Regions from separate parts of the Homo sapiens genome. Here region 2 is linked to region 1. The links are contacts of gene promoters, found by promoter capture Hi-C in blood cells and fetal thymus (Javierre and others, 2016). All regions are on one chromosome and are shown on one strand. Each heading gives the region's core, a stretch centred on a gene start or on the middle of the fragment in contact. The rest is flanking DNA. Distances are from core to core; before and after follow the strand shown. Region 1 holds the start of TAB3-AS1 (TAB3 antisense RNA 1). Region 2 has its middle 43 kb from the start of TASL.

Region 1 (5,312 bases), core at 2,019-4,518:
AGTCCCGAGGTTTCCTTTTCTTCTGGTAGTGCTCAAAGTTTCACTTTCAACCTGGCGCAGACTTTTCTGAATTCAGGTGTACCGTGGCATCTCGCACTGCTCACAGCGATTTAGTGCTGGGTGGTTAAGAAAGGTGCAGCTATCACAATTCCATGGAGCCCCTTCGTAGTCTTCATCTCGAGGTTGTGTCCGAGGACTTTGTGTGGAGCCAGTTCGATGCTCTGAGGGAGGTTAGGATTAAGGGGGAGGGGGAAGGTAAATAGATTAACCTTTTTCCAAGTATAATCCAAACTGAAAAGAAAAATACCACAAAAATCAAGGGAGGTAATTGCCTACTTTAATATGTAAGCCAATTAGTAAATATATCTACTGGAAATGCATAGTTGAACAGAAAGTTGATCTTTTACTTTGTTCTAATTACTTTTTTTCTGCTATAAGAAGATGGATATATGTCCAGAATAGATTGCCTTCCTAGGTCATTACCTGTAAATAGCGGAGAGTTATGCTTTATTCCAGCCAAATGAAGAAAAAGAGAAATGTTTTATAGCATGTTAAATTCTGTCGCCTCTGTAAGTTTTCCCTGACTTCAGCCCACCTTGACTTTTCCTCTCTATAGTATAATACTATCCACACTATATTAAACATCTGACTAAATGTGTGCCTTCTTCCATGACAACTTAAGCTCTACAATATGCATATGTTTTATATTAATGGTTCATAAATAGCAGTGGCAGTTCATACCAAAGTTTTCCTCAGAATAGTGAAAAGAGGAAGATTCTACAGTTCATTTTTCATAAAGCTAAATTCATTCAGTATAAAAGACTTTTATTCTCATATTCTTTCCTACATTTTTGGCATTAAAAATCCTTCATATATCAGTTTTTAAAAATGCCCATACCTGGCAACCTTATGTTGGTCCCCAGGATTTGAAAAAGATATCCAAACTTACATTCCTCTTAGGTCCTCATTCCCTCTGGCTTTGTGCTCAAAAAAGCTCTTTGCATCTAGAGTTAACCTGTAATTTCTGTCTTTTAGGTCTCTATTGAGACTGAGGTCAATAAATAGGAGACTAAAGATCTCCAGATGGAATTCACCCTGGAATCTGGGGTAACTGGAAATGAGATTAAGATCTGAGGTAAGCAACACCTTTTTAAATAGGTAACAAAAGAAACAGATCTAGGGAAGCTTTGTCAGTTACTATTTTGGGCTAGGCATATCTTCCACTGGAAATTAACAAGCTGACTTCTAGTTTATCAATTTGCCTTATATGACAAATGTTATAACATTCCCCAAGAGATAAGGAGAACTGAATTTTAGACCCTGAACCTTACCCCAAGGTATGATAATGCTCAGCCTCAAACAGGAAGGTGATCTTAGCCTTAGGATATAACAGAAAATTACTGGGTTTTTCAGCTGCTTCCTATGACTATAAATAGGAGATGGGCTTGTTTCTCTTGCTTCAACTATTGCTTTTTAACTGCCATTATCACCCACCTTGTGTCTTTTGGCTCATGACTCCAAAACATGTAGATTTAATACAGTTTTCTTTTTTGTCTCATATGGAGGAATAAAGCCTTCGGTTGGAGGAAAAATGTTTACTATGCCATTTTCTTTCTTTCTTTTTTTTTTTTTTTGAGACGGAGTCTTGCTCTGTTGCCCAGGCTGGAGTGCAGTGGCGTGATCTCGGCTCACTGCAAGCTCCGCCTCCTGGGTTCACGCCATTCTCCTGCCTCAGCCTCCTGTGTAGCTGGGACTACAGGCGCCTGCCACCGCACCCGGCTAATTTTTTGTGTTTTTAGTAGAGACAGGGTTTCACCGTGTTAGCCAGGATGGTTCGATCTCCTGACCTCGTGATCCGCCTGCCTCGGCCTCCCAAAGTGCTGGGATTACAGGTGTGAGCCACCGCACCCGGCCTACTATGCCATTTTCAGAAAAGGACCTCTTTTGTCTTTACCTTTTAAAAGAACAATATGCCCAAAAACGTAACACTTAAAAAAAAATTCGTATCTTACTGTTGCTGGTTTTTAATAGACATGCTCTAAAAACTCAATGTTGCTATAAGTGTAAAATATACACCACATTTCAAAGACTTAGTATAAAAAGGATGTAAAACATCTCACTGATAATTTTATATTGATTTCATATTGAAATAATATTTTGTATATACTGAATTATATAAAAATATATTAAAATTTGGCCAGGCACGGTGGCTCACGCCTGTAATCCCAGCACTTTGGGAGGCTGAGGCGGGTGGATCACGAGGTCAGGAGATCGATACCATCCTGGCTAACACAGTGAAACCCCGTCTCTACTAAAAACACAAAAAATTAGCCGGGCGTGGTGGCAGGCACCTGTAGTCCCAGCTACACAGGAGGCTGAGGCAGGAGAATGGTGTGAACCCAGGAGGCGGAGCTTGCAGTGAGCCGGGATAGCGCCACTGCACTCCAGCCTGGCCTAAAGAGCGAGACTCCGTCTCAAAAAAAAAAAAAAAAAAAAAAATTAATTTCATCTTTGCTACTAGAAAATTTTAAATTGTATATGTGGCTTGCATTATATTTCTACTGGACAGCACAGCCTTAGAAACTCGGTAATGTTTTTAAAGCAAAAAATAAAGGTATGGTTTTACTTATAATTCTACATGGATTAACATGTGTCTTTGGACATTCTGCACAAACTCTGGACACACAAGTACAAACCATCTGCAGCTGCTGCCTGGGTGTCATGGATGTCTGCCTGTACTTTGGAGGTCACGCTAATTCTTCGGGCTTTTCTCTCAATTGTGCAGGGGTCTGAGGAGTCTGCATAAAAATAAACAACGCCAGAAAGAAGTGATCCAGTCTTTCAACTGCAAGAGTGAACAGGCTCACAAGATCTTTCAAGCAACCCACACAGCTGAGTGCATTTACCCTACCTATTACTTCATGTTACCTTTAGCAAGGGCAGGCACCATATTTAATACTGCTTTTACAACCTATACAGAGCAGTGGTTCTTACAACTTTTTTCCATCTTCTCCAGTTACATCTTCTCCCATTACTTAGAACAAATGCCCTATTTCACTGTTTTCTACTTTTTAATGGATTAGGGGTACAAACTCAGTGATAGCAAATAAATGTCGATGTGAAAGCAAAATTTGGGAAATTTTACTTTAGCAATTATCTGATTAAGCAATAATTATTTAAAAATTATTTTAAAATTATGGGCACTATCCATACAGTAAGGCTATTACAATGATGAAATGTGATGAAAATGACAGGATTTTTTTTGTTTTGTTTTTGTTTTTTTTGAGACAGGGTCTTGTTCTGCTGTCCAGGCTGGAGTACAGTGGCACAATAATGGCTCACTGCAGCCTTGATCTCCTGGGCTCAAGTGATCCTCCTGCCTCAGCCTCCCAAGTATCCAAGACTACAGGTGCATGCCACTACCACGCCCAGCTAATTTTTTAAATTTTATTTTTTGTAGAGACAGGGTCTCTCGCTATGTTGCCCAGGCTGGTCTCAAACTCCTGGCCTCAAGTGATCCTCCCACCTCAGCCTCCCAAAGTGTTGGTATTACAGGCAGGAGCCACTGTGTCTGGTGGATTTTTTAAAAATAGCAGTACTTGAAAAATCAGAACCAACTCGATATAATAGTATATACTGACAACCACGTGCTCCCAAATCATTTCCTGAATTCCAATTACCTATGTGTGCAGAAGCCCAGCAGACACTTTGCAACACAGACAAGAACTGTAGGCATCCTAATATCTTGCTAGAAAATTGTTTCTATAAATTTATAGTTTATTAGTAAGCAACCCTTTGGATTAAAAATGAAAAATGGCAGCCTTTATATTATTTGCCCTTAGGAACCAAAGAAAGATCTTGCATTTTCTAATGAATTCTGAGCCCACAGTACAACTCATCTTTGGAAATCACTGCTCCAGAATCCAAAGCATGGTGCTCAGGTACTTAAATACTCCATTGTCTGAGTAAACAAAAGCAGAGTGAATGTCTCCTTAAGGCTCCAAAGAATAAGGTAAAGTTCTGTTTCTTAGATTTGCAAAGTACTTCTGTCGAGTCACATACCTTATCTCACTAACTCTTACAACCTTTGGAGTATTTGGCTGGATTGTCCCTCTATGGTGCTCAGATTGAGTTTGAACAAGGTCAGGTGGCCAAGATGACCAGGACCAGTGCTCAGATCGTGGGACACCAAGGTCAGTGTGCTTGCTTGCTTACTGATGAAGGTTGGGGAAGCTGTCTAAGCCCACTGAAGAGCACACATACACACTGTATTGTTTAACTACAAAGTCCAATCTACCACTGTTATGAGTTACTAATAAGGGTTGGGAGACATTCTAAGCCCGCTGAAGAGCACGTACACACTGTATTGCTTAACTACAAAGTCCAATCCAAAAAAGGTTTGTTTCTCTGTCTCTTTCTCTCTCTTTCCTTCTGTCTCCCTCACATTCTTTAATTATCACACTTAGAATTCAGATAAACTATATTAATTACACTTGGATTTCTGGTATATATCTGTAATAACTCCAAGACATTTATTTATTCGAACCAATAAACCTATTCTACCAGTAATTTGTGTTTTACTGGTTTATCTTTTTTCTTTTTGTATTTGAGTGGCCTGCAATAGCAGGCCAATCTGTGCTAAACTATATGTACTTTTAGAAAACGCCGATTTAGTTTCAAATACAATATGAGAATCTGCAAGTGCTTAATGGAAAACAAACTTGATTTTATGGAGAAAACTGAATAGCTTTTATAAATTTGTGATGAAAGGCTTACCAAAAAATTATAGAATTTAATCAAGTTCTACTGTTTCTAAGTTTTAACAGAAGAAGATAAAAAACGGGTTAAAGACAATTTGGCATATAATAGAACCATTTATACTTTCACCAATAATATATATTATTATAGAATTACAACTACTAAATTTCTAAAATAGAAATTCATTTATAGTGAAGATGACTGAGATGGCTTCCTAGTCTCTTTTTTATTAGAAGTGTACATATGTAGAATATTAAACTGCTTGGGGTAGGAGTCATGTTTTCCCTGTGTAACAGCAAGCATCTATCTACATAATTGAGCTACGCATTGAGCATTCAATACATATTTAAGAAATTTTAACCGAAATCCCATTATAACTAACTCTAAGGGACTATCAGTTTTTGCAAATTGTGTTTGAGTTAAATGAGTCATAGAAAAGAGTCTTTCAGACCAGGAACAGTGACTTATGCCTGTAATCGCAGCACTTTGGGAGGCCAAGGCAGCAGGATCGCTTCAGCCCAGGAGTTTGAGACCAGCCCGGGCAACATGGCGAA
Region 2 (5,312 bases), core at 1,390-3,889, 300 kb before region 1:
GAGGTTGGGATATTATAGCAGGAAAGCAAAGATTAAAAGCAGCCCATTTTCTTTTCATTTATCAACTTTTATTTTAGGTCAGGGGATACATGCACAGCTTTGTTCTATGGGTAAATTGTGTCTTGGGGTCTTGAGATACAAATGATCCCATCACCCAGGTAGTGGGCATAGCACCCAATAGGTAGTTTTTCAACATTTGCTTCCCTTACGCCCTCCCTCCTCTAATAGTACCCACTGTCTATTGTTTCCATCTTTTAAAAAAAATTTTATTTTTAATTTTTGTGAGTACATAGTAGGTGTATATATTTACAGGTTACATGAGATATTTTGATAAAGGCATGCAATGAATAATAATCACATCAGAGCAAATGTAATATCCATCACCTTAAGTATTCATTCTTTGTATTACAAATAATCCAATTATACTCTTAGTTATTTTAAAATGTACAATTATTATTGACTATAGTTGCCCTGTTGTGTTATCAAATAGTAAGTCTTATTCATTTTTTCTAACTCTATTGTTTCCATCTTTATGTCCTTGTATTGTCAATGTTTAGCTTCCACTTACAAAAGTGAGAACATACAGTATTTGATTTTCTGTTTCTGTGTCAATTCTCTTAGGATAATGGCCTCCAGCTGCAACCATGTTGCTGCAAAAAAAAAAAAAAAAAACCAACAAAAAAAACATGACTTTGGGTTTTTTTATGGCTGCATACTACTCCATGGTGTATATGTACCACACATTTTGTTCATCCAGTTCACCATTGATGGGCATTTAGTTTCATTCCATGTCATTGCTATTGTAAATAGTGCAAGCAGCCAATTTTGAAGTTTTGACTGCTAACAGAATTTCTGAGTTGAGAAAACTTTTCAGTTTGTCTGATCACCACCACAACTAAAGCAAAAGTTTTGTAATACGAATGCAAAAGACAAAAGCACATTGATATAGATTTTGAGGGGAGAAGATTTTTTAAATTCTTATAATTCCCTTTAGCATGTTGTTTTTAAATTTTTAATTGACAAAATTGTATATATTAGACATTTATGAGGTACAATGTGATGTTTAGATATATATTTACAATATAAAATGATTAAATCATTTGCTAATTAACAAATCTGTAACTTCACACACTTTTTTGTTGTGAAAACATTTTAAATCTCCTCTTTTAGTAATTTTGAAGTATATGATGCATTATTATTTATTATAGTCACCATTCTATGCAATAGATCACTAAAGCTTATTCGTCCTGTTTAACTAAAATTGTCACCCTTTGATCAACATTTCCCCTTTCCCCATTCACTCCTCTTACTCAGCATCTGGCAACCACCACTTGATTCTCTACTTTTATGAGTTCAACTTTCTTAGATCCTTTAGCATATTGTCTAGGTCAGGGTTCAGTTGTACAAGGCAGACTGCACTTTAGCTAGCTCAAGCAGGAAGGAATTTGTATTAGTCCATACTCATGCTACTATGAAGAAATACCCGAGACTGAGTAATTCATAAGGAAAAGAGGTTTAATTGACTCACAGTTCTGTATGGTTGGGAAGGCCTCAGGAAACTTAAAATCATGGCAGAAGGGGAAGCAGGCACTTTCTTCACAAGGCAAGGAGAAGTGCCCAGCAGCAAAGGTGGAAGAGCCCCTTATAAAAAACAACAGATCTTGTGAGAACTCCCTCACTATCAAGAGAACAGCATGGGGGAACCACCCCCATGATCCAATTTATCTCCACCTGATCCCACCCTTGACCCGTAAGGATTATTACAATTCAAGGTGAGATTACAATTCAAGGGACACAGAGCCAAACCATATCAGAATTCATTATAGAATTGTGGTAGGAGCTGAAGAAAAAAACTCTAGTTTGAGTTTTCAGGAACAACTTCTACAGACTCACCATGGAACCTGGCTATCAGGGCAGCTGCTGCCTCTTATGTGATCAAGAGGCTCCTGGTTCCAGAACTGTGTTGTTATTGCCATCATCAGGAAACCACCACGATCAAGAAACTGCTGCTGTGAGCTCCAGAGGTGTGCCATTCCTGCTATGATTCATACAAGCAAAATGAATGCCCTGAGTCCTGTTTCTCAACATCATGAGTGGGTCCTGAGACCTCTGTTAATGCTGCCACAGAGGAGTGATTAAATGTGGGGCTCCCCATCATAAGGGGCATATTCCCCCCACAGTGACTTCTTGAAACTCATTTGAGCTAATGCAGATTGAGACCTGACCTCTGACCCTTTCCCCATAGCCGTCAATGAAAAAAAGTAGCTCATATTCCAAGAAATATGTCAACAGGCCAATACATCAAGATATCTGAAGAAGAGGATTCTTTCAAGAGAAAAGTGTTTGAAAAGATTTCATCTAAAGCAGAAATATTACAACACAGCGAACACTTGTTTTTAAAAAGAATAATAAACATAATACAATATATCTTTTTATGAAAGACACACCTAAATCATCAAGGACATGCAAAGGTTGAAAGTGAAAGGATAAAAGAAGTCATATAAGGCAAATACTTAACAAGAGAAGCCCAGTATATATGTTAGTATCAGACAAAATAGATTTTTTTTTCAAGCAAAGCATTATTAGAGTGAGAGCAGGTAGGTACAAATGACATTCATTTTGCCAAAAAAGTATAGAAATTTTTAACTATGGATGAACCTAATAAAATAGCTTCAAAATATGTAGAGATAAAATTGATAGAACAACAAAAGCAAAAAAAAAAAAAAAGAAATTGATGCCATCATGGTGGGAGATTTCAACATACCTCTCCCAATTATCAATAGCTTAAGGAGATAAAATTCAGAAAGCATATAACAAGTCTAAATAATGCAATTAAAAATCGTGATCTAATAGACCTACATAGAACTTTGCATCCAGAAATTTGAGAACTTGCATTCTTTTAAAAAATGTATTTTGTAAATGAGACAGTAAAAAAAACTGGATAATGTACTGAGCCACAAAATGAACCCTAATAAATTTCAAAGCATAGGTATTATGCAGATTATTTTCTCTGACAACTCGATTAAGTTAGAAAGACAACAAAAATAACAAATATACTTACTACTGCAAGACAATTTTCCATGGGTCTTATATTTCTGCATGTCTTATGAGCAGAGGCACTGACTGGCTTTTTCTCAGGCCATCTTTTCAAGGATATTTGTATACTAGACAGCTTTGGAAGATAAAGATAGCATCTCCCTCTAGAGCAAAGGGCAAGCATGCTTACTGTACAGTATAAAAGATCTGAGTTTCTTAAGCTCTGAATTCTTTCCTGTAACACAACTCGCTGTAAATGCACATGTCACCTGGCTCTCTTCATCACCCTGGTGAAATTGGGGTTTGAGGACTCAGCACATGAAAATGCTGATACACTGACCACTGCTAATGCTGTGTTTTATAAGGTCCTTTGTCACTGACCTAGCAGTCTCAAATCTGTTCATCAATATTAACTTGTTATCTTCTAAGTAGGGTAAAATCTCAGATCCTTCATGATGGGTTGATATCCATGTTTTCAGAAATTTTAAAAACACACTGATAAGTAACTCATAATGAAAATTGTGATATGTTTAAAAGAAAATTATAATAAAAATACTGTATATCAAAACTTAAGGCACATAGGAAAAGCAGTGCTTTGAAGGAAGTGTTATAGCCTTAAATACTTATTTTAGGGGGAAAAGCTATGAAGTAATTAGACATCTGAAAGAGAATATTAGACTAAACATAAAAAAAGCAGACGAATAATAAAAAGAGTGTAAATCAATGAAATAGGAGTGACGTGCAAAAATGCAACAAAGACAAAAATTGGGCTTTTGGGAAAAAATTACAAAATAAGTATACTTTCAGCAAGATTCATAAAGAAAAGAAGGCAGAGAAAGAGAAAGAGAGGAGGCACCAAAGTAAAAATGATAAATGAAAAATAACCAAACTTAGATAAAGCAGAGAATAAAAAGATAATAAGCACACATCAACTTTAATGCATTAGGCAAAATGGACAAATTTCTAGAAAAATATAATTAGCAGAACTGATTTGAGAAACACATTATAAGCTTCAATGGTCCTGTTAATATTAAATAAATTAAAGCAATAATTTCAAATCTCTTTTAAAGCAAATACCAATCTCAAAACAGATAATCTTAATCTCATTCAAATGCTTTCAGAGAATATAAAAAGAAAAAAAGGGATTCCTTCCCTAACTCATCTATTAATCCTGCATATATCTGAGATCAAAAATGCATAAAAGCAGTACAAAAAAGGAGCATAACAAACCTATTTTGCTCATTAATATAGACTTAAAAAAATAGCGTTTGCAAAAATCCTCAACAAAATACTAGCAAGCCAAATCCAGCTGCACATCAAAAAGCTAATCCACCACGATTAAGTAGGCTTCATCCCTGGGGCACAAGGTTGGTTCAACATATGCAAATCAATAAATGTGATTCATCACATAAACAGAACTGAAAAACACATGATTATCTCAATAGATGCAGAAAAGGCTTTTGGTAAAATTCAACATCTCTGTATATTAAAAACCCTTAACAAACCAGGCATTGAAGGAACATACTTCAAAATAATAAGAGCCACCTATGATAAACGCACAGCCAACATCATACTGAATTGGCAAAAGTTGGAAGCATTCCCCTTGGAAACTGGAATAAGACAAGGATGCCCTCTTTAACCACTCCTATTCAACATAATTTTGGAAGTCCTAGCCAGAACAATGAGGCAAGAGAAGGAAATAAAAGGCATCCAAATAGGAAGGAAGGAAGTCAAACTATACTTGTTTGCAGATGACATAATCCTACACCTAGGAGGCCCCATAGTCTCTGCCCAAAACCTCCTTGATCTGATAAACAATTTCAGCAAAGTTTCAGGATACAAAATCAATGTACAAAAATCAGTAGCATTCCAATCTGAGAGCCAAATCAGAAAATTATCCCATTCACAATAGCCATGAAAAGAATAAAATACCTAGGAATACAGGCAACCAGATAGATGAAAGATTTCAACAATGGGAATTACAAAACACTGCTCAAAGAAATCATGGCAGGGAGCAGTGGCCCACACCTGTAATCCCAGCACTTTGAAAGGCCAAGGCGGGTGGATCACCTGAGGTCAGGAGTTTGAGACCAGCCTGGCCAACATGGTGAAACCCCATCTCCACTAAAAATACAAAAATTAGCTGGGAGTTTTGGTGGGCACCTGTAATCCCAGCTACTCTGGAGGCTGAGGCAGGAGAATTGCTTGAACCCAGGAGGCAAAGGTTGCAGTGAGCCAAGATCACAACATTGCACTGCAGCCCGGGTGACAAGAGT

What was found. The method cuts DNA at HindIII sites, captures the fragments that hold promoters and counts their contacts. A CHiCAGO score of 5 or more calls a contact.
Region 2: a contact is called between a fragment that was not itself captured here and the fragment with the promoter of TAB3-AS1 in region 1, in 1 of 17 cell types (neutrophils). The highest score is 5.8, in neutrophils.

What each region holds. Positions count from the first base shown.
Region 1 is chrX:30,831,355-30,836,666 of GRCh38, forward strand. TAB3-AS1 (TAB3 antisense RNA 1) reads left to right here and starts at 3,269. Exons shown (of 3, transcript NR_145449.1): 1 at 3,269-3,409; 2 at 3,843-3,941. TAB3 (TGF-beta activated kinase 1 (MAP3K7) binding protein 3) reads right to left here. Exons shown (of 11, transcript NM_152787.5): 10 at 2,697-2,798; 11 at 1-221. The coding sequence ends at 73. The HindIII fragment of the contact is 4,366 bases long and covers 1,184-5,312 here.
Region 2 is chrX:30,532,040-30,537,351 of GRCh38, forward strand. No RefSeq gene overlaps it. Among named protein-coding and RNA genes, the nearest start is that of TASL, 43 kb to the right of the region's middle. The HindIII fragment of the contact is 2,809 bases long and covers 1,236-4,044 here.